Linked DNA regions of Homo sapiens: all the other regions are linked to region 1. Evidence: promoter capture Hi-C in 16 types of primary human blood cells and fetal thymus (Javierre and others, 2016). All regions are on one chromosome and are shown on one strand. The core of a region is centred on a gene start or on the middle of the fragment in contact, and the rest is flanking DNA. Distances in the headings are between cores, read along the strand shown.

The links. The method cuts DNA at HindIII sites, captures the fragments that hold promoters and counts their contacts. A CHiCAGO score of 5 or more calls a contact.
Region 2: a fragment that was not itself captured here is called in contact with the fragment with the promoter of ADRB1 in region 1 in 14 of 17 cell types (megakaryocytes, endothelial precursors, total B cells and 11 more); the score reaches 9.4 in megakaryocytes.
Region 3: a contact is called between a fragment that was not itself captured here and the fragment with the promoter of ADRB1 in region 1, in 5 of 17 cell types (total CD8 T cells, naive B cells, endothelial precursors and 2 more). The highest score is 5.9, in total CD8 T cells.
Region 4: a contact is called between a fragment that was not itself captured here and the fragment with the promoter of ADRB1 in region 1, in 2 of 17 cell types (megakaryocytes and M0 macrophages). The highest score is 5.7, in megakaryocytes.
Region 5: a contact is called between a fragment that was not itself captured here and the fragment with the promoter of ADRB1 in region 1, in 1 of 17 cell types (neutrophils). The highest score is 5.2, in neutrophils.

The regions. Positions count from the first base shown.
Region 1 is chr10:114,042,606-114,045,125 of GRCh38, reverse strand. It overlaps ADRB1 (adrenoceptor beta 1), which reads right to left and starts at 1,260. Exons shown (of 1, transcript NM_000684.3): 1 at 1-1,260. The coding sequence starts at 993. RefSeq lists silencers at 1,163-1,222, 1,293-1,572 and an enhancer at 1,843-1,892. The HindIII fragment of the contact is 8,909 bases long and covers 1-2,520 here.
Region 2 is chr10:113,801,901-113,804,420 of GRCh38, reverse strand. No RefSeq gene overlaps it. Among named protein-coding and RNA genes, the nearest start is that of MIR4483, 25 kb to the right of the region's middle. The HindIII fragment of the contact is 2,249 bases long and covers 134-2,382 here.
Region 3 is chr10:113,827,700-113,830,219 of GRCh38, reverse strand. No RefSeq gene overlaps it. Among named protein-coding and RNA genes, the nearest start is that of DCLRE1A, 25 kb to the left of the region's middle. The HindIII fragment of the contact is 905 bases long and covers 809-1,713 here.
Region 4 is chr10:113,869,579-113,872,098 of GRCh38, reverse strand. All of the region lies in intron 2 of NHLRC2 (NHL repeat containing 2), which reads right to left. Among named protein-coding and RNA genes, the nearest start is that of NHLRC2, 16 kb to the right of the region's middle. The HindIII fragment of the contact is 5,851 bases long and covers 1-2,520 here.
Region 5 is chr10:113,888,168-113,890,687 of GRCh38, reverse strand. The region is part of intron 5 of NHLRC2 (NHL repeat containing 2); the gene reads right to left. Among named protein-coding and RNA genes, the nearest start is that of NHLRC2, 35 kb to the right of the region's middle. The HindIII fragment of the contact is 8,562 bases long and covers 1-2,520 here.

The DNA of each region.
Region 1 (2,520 bases), core at 11-2,510:
GCCCATGATGATGCCCAGCGTCTTGAGCGCCTTCTGCTCGCGCAGGGCCACGAGGCGCGAGGGCCGCCGCTTACCCGCACGCCCGTTGGCCAGCGGGGCGGTGGCGGCGGCGGCGGCGGGGCGCGGGGGTCCGGGCGGCGGCGCGGGCGCGGGGACGGGCGAGGGCGAGGGCGAGGGCGGCCGCGCTGGGCCGCCGAGGAAACGGCGCTCGCAGCTGTCGATCTTCTTCACCTGCTTCTGGGCCTCGCGGAACACCCGCAGGTACACGAAGGCCATGATGCACAGGGGCACGTAGAAGGAGACTACGGACGAGGCGATGGCGTAGGCCCGGTTGGTGACGAAGTCGCAGCACTTGGGGTCGTTGTAGCAGCGGCGCGCCTCGTCGCTCTCCGCCCGCCACCAGTGCATGAGGATGGGCAGGAAGGACACCAGGGCCGAGATGGCCCACACGGTGCACACGAGGCCCCGCGCCCGCGCGCGCGTCAGCAGGCTCTGGTAGCGGAAGGGCGAGGTGATGGCGAGGTAGCGGTCCAGGGCAATGACACACAGGGTCTCGATGCTGGCCGTCACGCACAGCACGTCCACTGAGGTCCACAGCTCGCAGAAGAAGGAGCCGTACTCCCAGCGGCCCCACACCACGATGGTGGCCCCGAACGGCACCACCAGCAGCCCCATGACCAGGTCGGCGCTGGCCAGGGACATGATGAAGAGGTTGGTGAGCGTCTGCAGCCGCGGCGTCTTGGCGATGGCCACGATCACCAGCACATTGCCCGCCACGATGAGCAGCACGATGAGCGCCATCAGCAGACCCATGCCCGCTGTCCACTGCTGAGACAGCGGCTCGGGGCTTTCGCTGGCGGGAGGCAGCAACGAGGCGGGCGGCGACGCGGGCACCAGCAGCCGCGCCGCGGTGGCCGCGCCGTCGGGGAGCGGTGCGGCCGACGACAGGTTACCGGGCTCGGAGGCGCCCAGGACGAGCACCCCCGCGCCCATGCCGAGCTGCGGAGGCCGGGGGCGGGGGGTGTGGCAGGGCTGGGCCGTGGTTGGGGAACACCCCAGAAGCCCGGGCGGCGTGGTGCGCAGAGGGAGGTCGCGGCCGGGTCAGGGCAGCCGCGGCGCGGGGCCGGAGGCATGGGCGCCGGGCGCCTTTCCCGCAGGAGCCGAGCGCTGTCGCTGCCGCTGCCGCCGCCGCCGCCGCCGCCGCTGCTGCTGGAGCCGCTGCCGCTGCTGGAAGAGCCGCCGGGACTTCAGCATGTTTCTGAGCGCGCCGGGCCCGCAGCTCCGGCACCCAGCACCCACCCCACCCCGCTCCCACTCCCCAAGCCAACCCCCGGGGCCTCGCGTCAGGCTCCTGCAGCCAATCCGGGCAAAGGCACGCCCCCGTCTGGTCTGCACCCCCACCTCCAACTCCCCGCACCCCCCTCCCGTTGGCAATTGAGCGGCTCCTGAGAGTCCCGAGCTGATCGCGTAGCTAGTGCCTCCCGTGCGCCCGCGGGTTCCTGCGGACGCACCCCTTCCTGCGCCCGCTGGTTCCTGGTCCCTGTTCCCCCGCGCCCCCTTCCGCGCCTGGCTCCCCCCGGGGCCCCGTCCCCTCCCTCAGCCCCCACTCGCTCCCGCACCCACTCCTGCGCCCCGTTTGCCTCCCGCACCCGCTCCTGCGCCCCGTTTGCCTCCCGCACCCGCTCCTGCGCCCCGTTTGCCTCCAGCACTCGGCTCCCTCCTGCGCCCCCGCTCCCCCCGCATCCCCTCGACCTGCAGTTCCGGGGTTCTCTGCGGAACAGAGCGCTAGCTCCCTTGAGCGGGGAGGGGACCTTGGTGTTCAGGAAGCGCCAGAGCGCCTGGGACAGCTTGTCCGCCAGGCTTGGAGGAGTTTGCCCTGCGAGCTTGGTTGTGATGTGGGGCAGCCTAGCAGGGTGTGTGTAAAACCCTTCCCCCGTCAAGACGGGACCCAGCCAGCATGCGTCGTGACAGCTTGGGGGATTGGAGGTGGGTGTTAGTGGTTAGAAGAAACTTCCCAGCAGAGCGGGTTGCTGGAGCCAAGCGCGCATCTGTCAAGAATGCTCTCTGGGCGCTGTTCTTGCAAGGATCCTCTGTTGAACCTCGAGTGCAGTAGATGTGGAAAGGAAGCGAAGGTTTGTGCATCTAACAGCTAACGCTGAGGGCCCTTTGGAATCGTACACACTCCTCAGTCCTAGCTAATGAACGTGTGAGCATGATGCAAAAATGTATGCTCATGATATGAAAGGAGAGGCTTAGGGAGACAGAAACGTTGAGATACAGAGTAAACGATACCACCGCGAGGGGGAAAAAACGCGTTTAATTACATTTTAGACTTTTCAATGATAACACCTGTATTTTGTGTTTTATTACTCATGTGATTTTATAATTTGAGCTGGGTCAATACAAACAAAAAGGTACTGTCAGTTTATGCTGACGTAATGAACTGCGATTTCAGATTCCTTGGTCTGCGTGCTTGTTTTCTCCTTTGCCCAAGTTCCCAGATTCTCAAAACTCTGAGAT
Region 2 (2,520 bases), core at 9-2,508, 240 kb after region 1:
TAAGTGAGAAGATTCATGTGTGCTAGGTGTTTAGCACAGAGCAGGTGCAATCAGCACCCTGGAATGTTTGCTCTGACCTTCCCTAGTCATGCTCCCACTTTACAGAATGTCATGTTGAAGGCCCCTCCAAGCTTTCATCCTGAGGAATCTTGATATGGCAGCCCGCGCTCCCAATTCCATTCAGACCCTTCAGAGGCATTCTGACTCCTCTCCAATGAGCCTTGGAATGTGGCAATTGAAATTGTTTCAAAGATTCTAGATACACTGTAATTTACAGAGTTTAGCTTGCATATCCCTTTCTGAGGATGCTTTACATTTAGTTGGCGTTTGTTTTTAGTTCCAGTACTTTGAGCTCACAGGAAACTCCATAAGGATAACTCACAGGGATTGCTGAATCCCATAATTATTTAAGTGTGATTTCCTTGTTCTCTTGCTTACCTTGAAATTTTCTACTTCTATTCTGGCCGCTCTCAGAACTTAGTGAGCTGTTTTGCCATTTATTCTTAGTAGCTTGACATTCTGCTTCTCTAGAAAACGTATCGTGATGTGCAAACTTGGAGATCTCAATTCTGAATTACTTATAGAAATTTAAGACTAATTCTAGCACAAATGCCTGGGAGGTCATTAGTATTTGCAGTTTTTCTATTCAAAGAAGAATCATCCATCTTTCCCCAGTCTTTGGCTGAGTTCTCAGTTCTTCAGGCCTGGATTTATTTTGTTTTAGGCACTAAATCCATGTGCCTGAGCTAACTTGCATTTTAACTTTACGTGGTCACTCTATCCATATCTGATATTTGGCTTTTTGCATGATTAAATTCTGGCTCCTGAGCCCCATGATTGGGGATAAGCACAGCCTTCAGTTTAGACCCTCAGTAACACACTCAGGTTAGCTGTTCCTCTAATTGTCTTTTTGCCAGGCGTTGTGCCAGCATATCCATGCTAGGTCTTGTGCTAGGGAGACATGAATTACAACCCCAGTGTTGTTTTCCTGTCTTTACTACCTCAGAGATTTCTTGTCATGAATCAAGCAACAGAACTGAAATTGATATTTAACTTTGTAAACTTCCCAGTGCCAGAATGCCCCAAATGATTACATTAAACAAGAACTACTTGCAAAGCTGTTCTTCTGTTTGTGTGTTTTGTCAGCCTTTGAAAGATTAACCATGTGTGGACGTGAATCCAATAAGAGATACATACTTCCTATGTACCGTGGAATGAGGAAGTAGCAAGGGAACTTCACTGATAGCAAGCTGGGTCTCTCTCGTGATGGAAATAACAGTGTAGGCCACATGTGGTGGCTCATGCCTGTAATCCTAACACTTTGGGAGGCCGAGGTGGAAGGATTGCTTGAACCCAGGAGTTTGAGACCAACTGGGCAACATAGTAAGATCCCATTTCTAAAAAAAAAAAAAGAAAATACAAAAATTAGCTGGGCGTGGTGGCATGTGCCTGTAGTCCCAGCTACTGGGGAAGCTAAGGCAGGAGGATCTCTTGAGCTGGGAAGATCAAGGCTGCGGTGAGCTGTGATCACACCACTCCATTCCAGCCTTCATGACAGAGTGGGACCCTGTCTCAAAGAAAGAAAGAAAGAGAAAAGAAAGATAAAGAGAGACAGAGAAAGAGAAAAAGAAAAATAGCAGTGAAGCCATTCTGCATTTTAAAAGCCAAGATTGATTGGATTCTGTAACATTCTTGGTACTGTTTTGTTCTGACTCCAAATTCCAACAGTACAATGAAAGCCAAGCCTTTTTTGGATTAAAATAAATGACTGACATTAATCTTCCTCTTGCTCATCTACTGCTTTATTACTTACAAAGCCTTGCCCCAGTCATCTCACTTAGCCAAACCCAGACCAACCTGTGCAGCTGTCCTGATAGCCCTTACTCAGAGCTTTGGTAAACCAGTTTGTTCTTTTCTTTCCAGAACCAGGTTTGGACCAGCTAAGAAAGTTCCTAGAAGCAGGCTGGGTTAGAAGAAGTCTCCCACTTTCTCCCCATATCCTTGTCTCTTCCCAAATGCTGCTACTCTGCTTTTGTTTGTTCTACTCAGACGTGTAGCTTAGTGTTCTTCCATCATAGGGGGCCTGCAGAGAACCAGGAGGGGAAGAAGAAGGACTCCACATCCTTTACTCCTTTTCAACAGCAGCCTTTGAAATCACCAGATCATCTTCGAGCTTCTCAGTGCTCCCTATTGATTCAAACAACAGATCTAGAAGTTAGGAGTCCTAGGTTCAAGTTCTTATTTTGCTACTAACTGAGTCAACTTGGGCAAGTCTTTCAACTTCCTGGGGTCCTTAAACCTCATTCTGTAGATGAGAACGTTAGATTGGATGGCCTCCCATACTCTGTCCAATCCCAGCACGCCATGTATTATAGAGAAGCTTCGAGTGCCTGCTATGAGTGAGACAGAGTCTTGGTACCTGCTCCTCAGTAACTAGAGTGCAGTTGGGGAGTGAAGGCACCACACAGTGTTATCAGTATGAGGCTATGTGTCATGGAATGCCCAGGCCGTTGATGGCTG
Region 3 (2,520 bases), core at 12-2,511, 210 kb after region 1:
ATTGAATGATTTTTCCCACTAGAATTGTCATTTTTCATAGGTAAAAAGATTTTTTATGATTTTGAACGTTTTTGAAAATCCAAGCATGTTATTTCAAGAGCAGCCTCAGCCTCAGCCTTTTTATTATTCTATGCAAAAACATCTTTCTACGTGAAAATCATCATTTGTGGCAGCTTGGAATAATGTCCCGCTATTGCTGGACATACCAAATTAAGTACCTCATTTAAGGGACATACCAAATAGTGTTATAAATAAGTCACAACCACAACTAAACTTTTCTAGGTTCTATTGACAGCATATATGAAATTCTTAGTTCTGATACAACATTTTGGTAGGTAAAAATTTTCCATTTTTAAGCGAAATGAAAGAAAAAGAAACCTACCACCAACCCAAAATATCTGGCAGCTCTTAACATCCTAAAATATGTGGAGAGAAGGGGAAGTAGAATCAAGCCAAGGTGGGGGAAATGTTTTGCTTTATATTTACTTGGAACTTTTCAGAAAGCATTTTTGTTTTTTAGATGGAGTCTTGCTCTGTGGCCCAGGCTGGAGTGCAGTGGCGCGATTTCAGCTCTGCAACCTCTGCCTCCCAGGTTCAAGCAATTCTCCTGCCTCAGCCTCCCAAGTAGCTGGGACTACAGGTGCACGGCTAATTTTTTGTATTTTAGTAGAGACGGAGTTTCACCATGTTGCCCAGGCTGGTCGCAAACTCCTGAGCTTAGGCAATCTGCTGGCCTCGGCTTCCCAAAATGCTAGGATTACAGGCGTAAGCCACTGCGCCCGGCCTTCAGAAAGCTTCTTTACAAGCTTATCTGACATTGAACATTTTATTACCAGGTGTAGTGACACTTGAAAGACTGATTTCAAATTGTTTTAACTTTGATCTAATGGGAAAACCTTTCTTACTTAATGTCAATGCCTTTTACATTTAAATTATCACTTAGTCTATATTTAATAATGTACCTAAATATGAAATTTCTCTTTTGGACAACAAATTTAATTTTAATTTCAATTTTAAATTTCATTCAAATTTAAAATTTAAATGAGTTGTATTCCCATGGCTCAAGTGCATCCAGAATTTCCTTATTCAGTCTTGAATAACCATCAATAACTACACTAAGGAATTAAGAAAATAATCTTCAGGTGCTAATCTCCAAAACAATCTGTCTTAGAGTGTCGATATTAGCTTGTAACTTACTGTTTTTTTATTCATTTAGTTCATTTGGTATTGATCTTAGAAAAACGATAGGGTTGGTTGTGTCCCCACCCAAATCTCATCTTGAATTGTAGTTTCCATAATCCCCATGTGTCCTGGGAGGGACCAGGTGGAGATAATTGAATCCTGGGACTGGTTTCCCTCATCCTGTTCTCATGATAGTGAGTTAGTTCTCGCGAGATCCTATGCCTTTATATGGGGCTTCCCCCTTTCGCTGGGCACTCGTCTTCTTCCTTGCCGCTCTGTAAAGAAGTGCGTTCAGCCGTGATTGTAAGTTTCCTGAGGCCTCCCTAGCCATGCGGAACCGTGAGTCAATTAAACCTCTTTTCTTTATAAATTACCCACTCTTGGGTATTTCTTCATAGCAGCGTGAGAATGGACAATTACAGATGCCAATACAAGTTATTTGAAGTTAACAAAAGCATAAGTTAATGGTTATAAATAACAGTAGAACAGTTTAGTCATGAGAATTACTTCCAATCTGAACACTTGAAAGCTTTTAACTTGGCAATCATTTTAATGTGCTAATTCTGTTTCATTTCTCCTTTTCCCTAAGTATCTACTCTTTGCTCCCAAAAGTAAACATATTCCCTTTGCATCATAATGCATTCCCTCCATAATTTCAAAGTTCCATTTTCTATAAATCAGAAATAATTTATAAAGCATTTGTTGTGGAGTATACCAAGTATACGCAACCAGGTATAACACAAAATTACTAATTTCTTAAACATTCATAGCTGGGCCAGAGCTCAGGTAAAGCAGAGGAGGTGACTAGGGTGATGAATTTAAAGAGGCACTCCTTTTTAAGGCTGACCCTGTATTTACGGGACCCTGAGAGCGAGTGGCCTCATGAAATTTTGCTCTAGAAAACCTCTCTTTACTCACCCTAGTCCCAGCCCTGACTCATAGCATCTAGTTATGTTCTTTTGCTGTTTGCATGAATAAAAATGGCTTTCTAAATATTGTTATACCTTTGTTTTTAGTACACATTGAAACATAAACATTTAAATCTGAATTTAAAAGAGTACTTTTTAAAGAACTTCTAAATTCATCAATATCAAGATAATTAGTACCAGTTTTTCTGAAGCATCAAACCTAGATTCCTTTGAGATCCTTCCCCTAGTATACTGTAAACACTTAAGGTCAGAGCCTGTATCTTATTGATGATTCAGTACCTTTTCCAGTGTCTGCCCAGGGACAGTTCACATAAGTGATGAATACTTGAATGAATCTTTAATAAACAGTGACAAAAATCCATGTACATTCTAAGAATTGACTTCCAAAATTATTTTATGTGTATTCCTC
Region 4 (2,520 bases), core at 8-2,507, 170 kb after region 1:
GTCTAGTATGTCCAAACCTGTGTTCAGTATTTTATACTTTGTATTGGAGCTTCTCTTTCTGGGGGTAAGGAGACTATTCTGTTTGTGCGTTGTCTAAATACTCTGAACCACTCTGCTTGTTCTCATGGAGTCTTTTAAGTCTCCCCTACACTTGTTCTTGGCATCCACAGACTTACAGCAATAGAACCTTTATGGGAATTTAGTTTATTTCTGAACTTCCATCTAATGTCAAGGCCATGATATTCTCTGTCTCCTAGTATTGTGAAATGCAGGGCCAAGTGAGATTTTACTTGTTCTCCCCTTTTTTATTGTTTGGAACAGAGGGGAGGGACAGTGGGGAGATTCAAGATCAGGTAGCCACCATCCTCCTCCAAACCCAGAAGTAGCACAGATAGATTCTTTTTAATCATTAGGTTTATTGACATATAATTACTTACACTAATCTTTCATACTTTGTTAGTTGATTAAATAAACTAAGTATAAAACCAGAAACTGGTATAAAAACAGAAGTACAGTATAAAATAGAAGTATTTCCAGTAGTATAAAAACAGAAGTACTTCCAATACGATAAAGAATAAGGAAAAAAATGCCTACCATCTCTACTATTGTTTAACAATAAATTGAGGTGGGGCGTGGGGGATTAGCCAACATAATTAGACAAGTGAAATCAATTAGAGGCATAAGACTGAAAAATTTCTATATGGAGCTATAACAGTATATCAAGAAAAGTCCAGAGACTCAATTATAAAACTAAGTCAAATAATAAAAGATTCAGGGCCAGGTGCAGTGGCTCACGCCTGTAATCCCAACACTTTGGGAGGCCGAGGCTGGCTGATCACCTGAGGTCGGGAGGCCAAGACCAGCCTGACCAACATGGAGAAACTCTGTCTCTACTAAAAATACAAAATTAGCCGGGCGTGGTGGCACATCCACGTAATCCCAGCTACTTGGGAGGCTGAGGCAGGAGAATTGCTTGAACCTGAGAGGCAAACGTTGCGGTGAACCGAGATCACGCCACTGTACTCTAGCCTGGGCAATAAGAACAAAACTCCGTCTCAAAAAAAAAAAAAAAAAAAAAAAAAAGATGCAGGAAGCAAGAATAATTAACACATGGAAATCAGTAGCCTTTATATACTCAAACAATAACCAGTTAGGGGATATAATGGCAGACAAAACTTCATATACAATAAATAGCCATATAAACATAAGATTAACCCAACTCAAAAATACATCTTAAAATTACACCAAGATACCACTTCCTATCTATTAGATTGGTAAAAATTAAAAAGTATGTCAAGACAGTTTATTGAAGCAGCATCTGAGAAAGAGGTACACTCACACACTGCTAGCAGAAATACAAACTGGTACAACTTTCCTGATGAAGAACTAGGCAATACCTAACGAAACTACATATGTACTTAACTTTGACCCAGCAATGCCACTTTTAGGAATTTATCCTTAAGTGATTCCACCAGCAAGACAAAAGCATATCTACAAGATTATTTATTGCTTATAATTGCTAAATATGGAATGATCTAAGAGCCAACACACAGGATAGGAGAGTGGCTGAATGAGTTATGGCACACATATAGCGGAGTACTATGCAGTTATTTTTAAAAGTCAAGAAGTTCTCTATGAACTGTTATGAAGTGACTCCTGGGATAAAATTTTACATGAAAAAAGCGAGTGTATAAAAATGTCTACAGTATGTCACCTTTTGTTTTAAAAAAAAGGAAATTTTAAAAAATATAGGACAGAAATGGGAAGGCAAGAACAGTTAGAAGGGATGGGTGGATAGAATGAATATCTGTTTCATCCTCACTTTGAAGACCATGTTGTCTTACACACTCAAAAACTAAGTCAACAAAGATGGGGGGACTTAAAATGAAATACAAATAGAAAAAAATAAATCTAACGATACTTTAGATGAATAACATAATTTAATGGGGGAAGCTGAGAAGTGGGAAGGAATAGCCTAAGTAATTTCTGAATTATTTGAGAAACTAGAAGCAAAAACACCATAGTAGCAATGAGCACATCTAGTTCCCAGACCTTGGTTTCTCAATACCATTCCCTACTAAAAGGGATCAAAGCTCCTTAAAGAAATAGCTGACTCAGGGTTGGGCTGGAAAAACACAAGATACATATGGAAATATTTTGGTGTATTTAGTAAGGAAGGGCTCAAAAAACGACAAAGAAATACCAAAAGATCACAGAAGACAGCCTGAAGGGGATCCTATTAGTCAAATCTTGGACCATTGGAATACCAAAATAAATTATCACAGTAATTATTTATAACCCAATGAATTTTAAATAAGAATCCATGAGTTAAATCTGTATACATTTTATGTACATTATATATATGTAATATTTATCATAAAGTATGTTATCATGTATCACACATTTTCCTACTGATAAATATATCCCAACATTTCCTTGAAGAAGTGATGACTGAAGTGAGATGTGAATGATGAGGTGTTAGGTGCAGAGAACGCTGAAGGAGATTCCAGGGAGAGACAA
Region 5 (2,520 bases), core at 10-2,509, 150 kb after region 1:
TACAAAAAGAAAAAATAAGAAGAATGAATAAAAAGAACACAATATGCAAGAGTTATTGAATATAATATTAAGAAGAAATCTAACATGAGTAACTGAAGTCCCAGAAAGAGAAAGACAGAAAGGGGCAGAAAAAAATATCTGAAGAGATAATGAGTGAGAATTTCTTGACAATAATGAACATCAAACCACAGATTCAAGAACTCCAAGCAGGATAATTCTTAGATATATCAAACTGCTGAAAACCAAAGATAAAATCTTGAAAGCAACCAGAGAAAAAAATACACTTTACATATAAAGAACAAGAGATAATATTAAAACAGGTGTCTTGTGGAAAACTATGTAAGTCAAAAGACAATGGAGTAATATCTTTAAAATAGTAAAAGAAAAAAATGTTAATCCAGATTCACATACGCAATAAAAATAACTTTCAAAAATGAAAGCTAGATACTTTTTCAGACCAGAATAAAGGCAAGAAAAATCACTGCCAGCAGACCTGTGTCATAAGAAGTTCTTCAGGCAGAAGCAATGACTCCCAACAGACATTTGGGACTTTAAGAAAACAGCCACTGTGGAAAACAGTCTGGCAGTTTCTTGTACACATTCACTTACCATATGACCCAGTAATCTCATTCTTAGGCATTTGCCCAAGAGAAGTGAATGCATATTACCACAAAACAAAAACTGTGCACAAACGTTTATGGAGGTTTTCTATAGCCACTGAAAACTAGAAATACCTTCAAATGTCTATTAACTGGTGAATGAATAAACAAACTGTGGTAGAGCCATACAACGAACTACTACTCAGTGATAAAAGAGAACAAATTACTGATACATGGAACCACAGGGATGAATCTCAAAAACATTATGCTAAATGGAAGAAGCCAGACATGAAAGATGACAGAGAACAGGAAAGAGATCACTGCTGCCAGTTGCTGCAGTGAGTGTGGTGATGGCGGGGGGAGACTCAACAACAGGCTATGAAATAACTTTTTGGGATGAAAATATTCTGTATCTTGACTGTGGTAAAAGTTACAAGACTGCACTTCTTTGTCAAATTTCATAGAATTATATACCTAATAAGGGTAAATTTTACTGTATATAAATTATACCTAATTAACCTAAAAAAAATCAACACCAAGTCAATGTGATAAGGCAGTATAAGAATCTTCTCTCAAATTTTAGACATAAAGATATAACTTATTTTAACAAAATAAAAATGTACTAGTCATACTGCATCAAATTTATTCCTTCAAAACTCCGTGTCATCTGATTTTTTTAAAGCAAAAATATTTTCATGGTATTTTATATCATATTAATAATGCGAGTCAGAGAAGCATTTATTGAAGCACATAAATACGAACACTGTAGATTATCAGACTAGCATACTAAATAGTTGGATTTCAACCATTAAAGGTTGTAGAAGAATGGCTAAACTTCTATCTAGGGAAAATGTTGATTAAAGGGCCAAGAAAGGTTAATGGGATTCTGGCACGTTATCCTTTCTATAAATGACTCAAAATCAGGTAAAGTCTTAAAGTACTTAGATACTGATAGGGGTTTTGGCTGGGCGCAGTGGCTCATACCTGTAATCCCAGCACTTTGGGAGGCCAAGGCGGGCAAATCACTAGAGGTCAGGAGTTAGAGAACAGCCTGGCCAACATGGTGAAACCCCATCTCTACTAAAAATACAAAAATTAGCCAGGCATGGTGGTGCACACCTGTAATCTCAGCTACTTGGGAGGCTGAGGCAGGAGAATTGCTTGAACCCGACAGGCAGAGGTTGCAGTGAGCCGAGATCACGTCACTGCACTCCAGCCTAGGTGATATGGCGAGCCTCAGTCTCAAAAAAAAAAAAAAAAAAAGATACTGATAGGAGTTTCAACCTTTATGCTAAACGTCTTTCAGGTTGTTGTCTGGTACAAATGGAGTCAACACAGACCTGATACACATTTTAGAAACATTACAATGTATCTGCTGAAAAAATGAACTTACTGTAGTAATTATTTTTGGTGCATGATGTTCTGACCACATTAAGAATGACAATTAAAAAATGAACACAGATAAAATGTAATTTTGTAAAAGTCACTTTATATTAATTATTTTTATAACTATACGGCATAGTCAGGTTAAATATTCAGATACCATTTAAAATACATAAACACATGCATTTACATACTACATGTAGATTTAAAATAATGAGATATTTCTAGTCCCTTTCCTACATCTTTTTCAAATTTTTAATTGACCAATAATAATTGTGTACATTCGTGGGGTACAATGTCATGTTTTGATCTATGTGTATACTGTAGAAAGATTCAATCAAGCTAAATAATATATCTATGAATATACCAACATTTTTTTCTGTGTGGTGCAAATGTTAAATATTTATTCTTTTAGCAGCTGTGAAATACACATTAATAACTACAAGTCAGTCACCATGCAGTGCACAATTATCTCTAAAACTTATTCCTCCAATTGAAACTTTGTACCCTTTGATCAACCTCTTCCCTTTCCCCATAC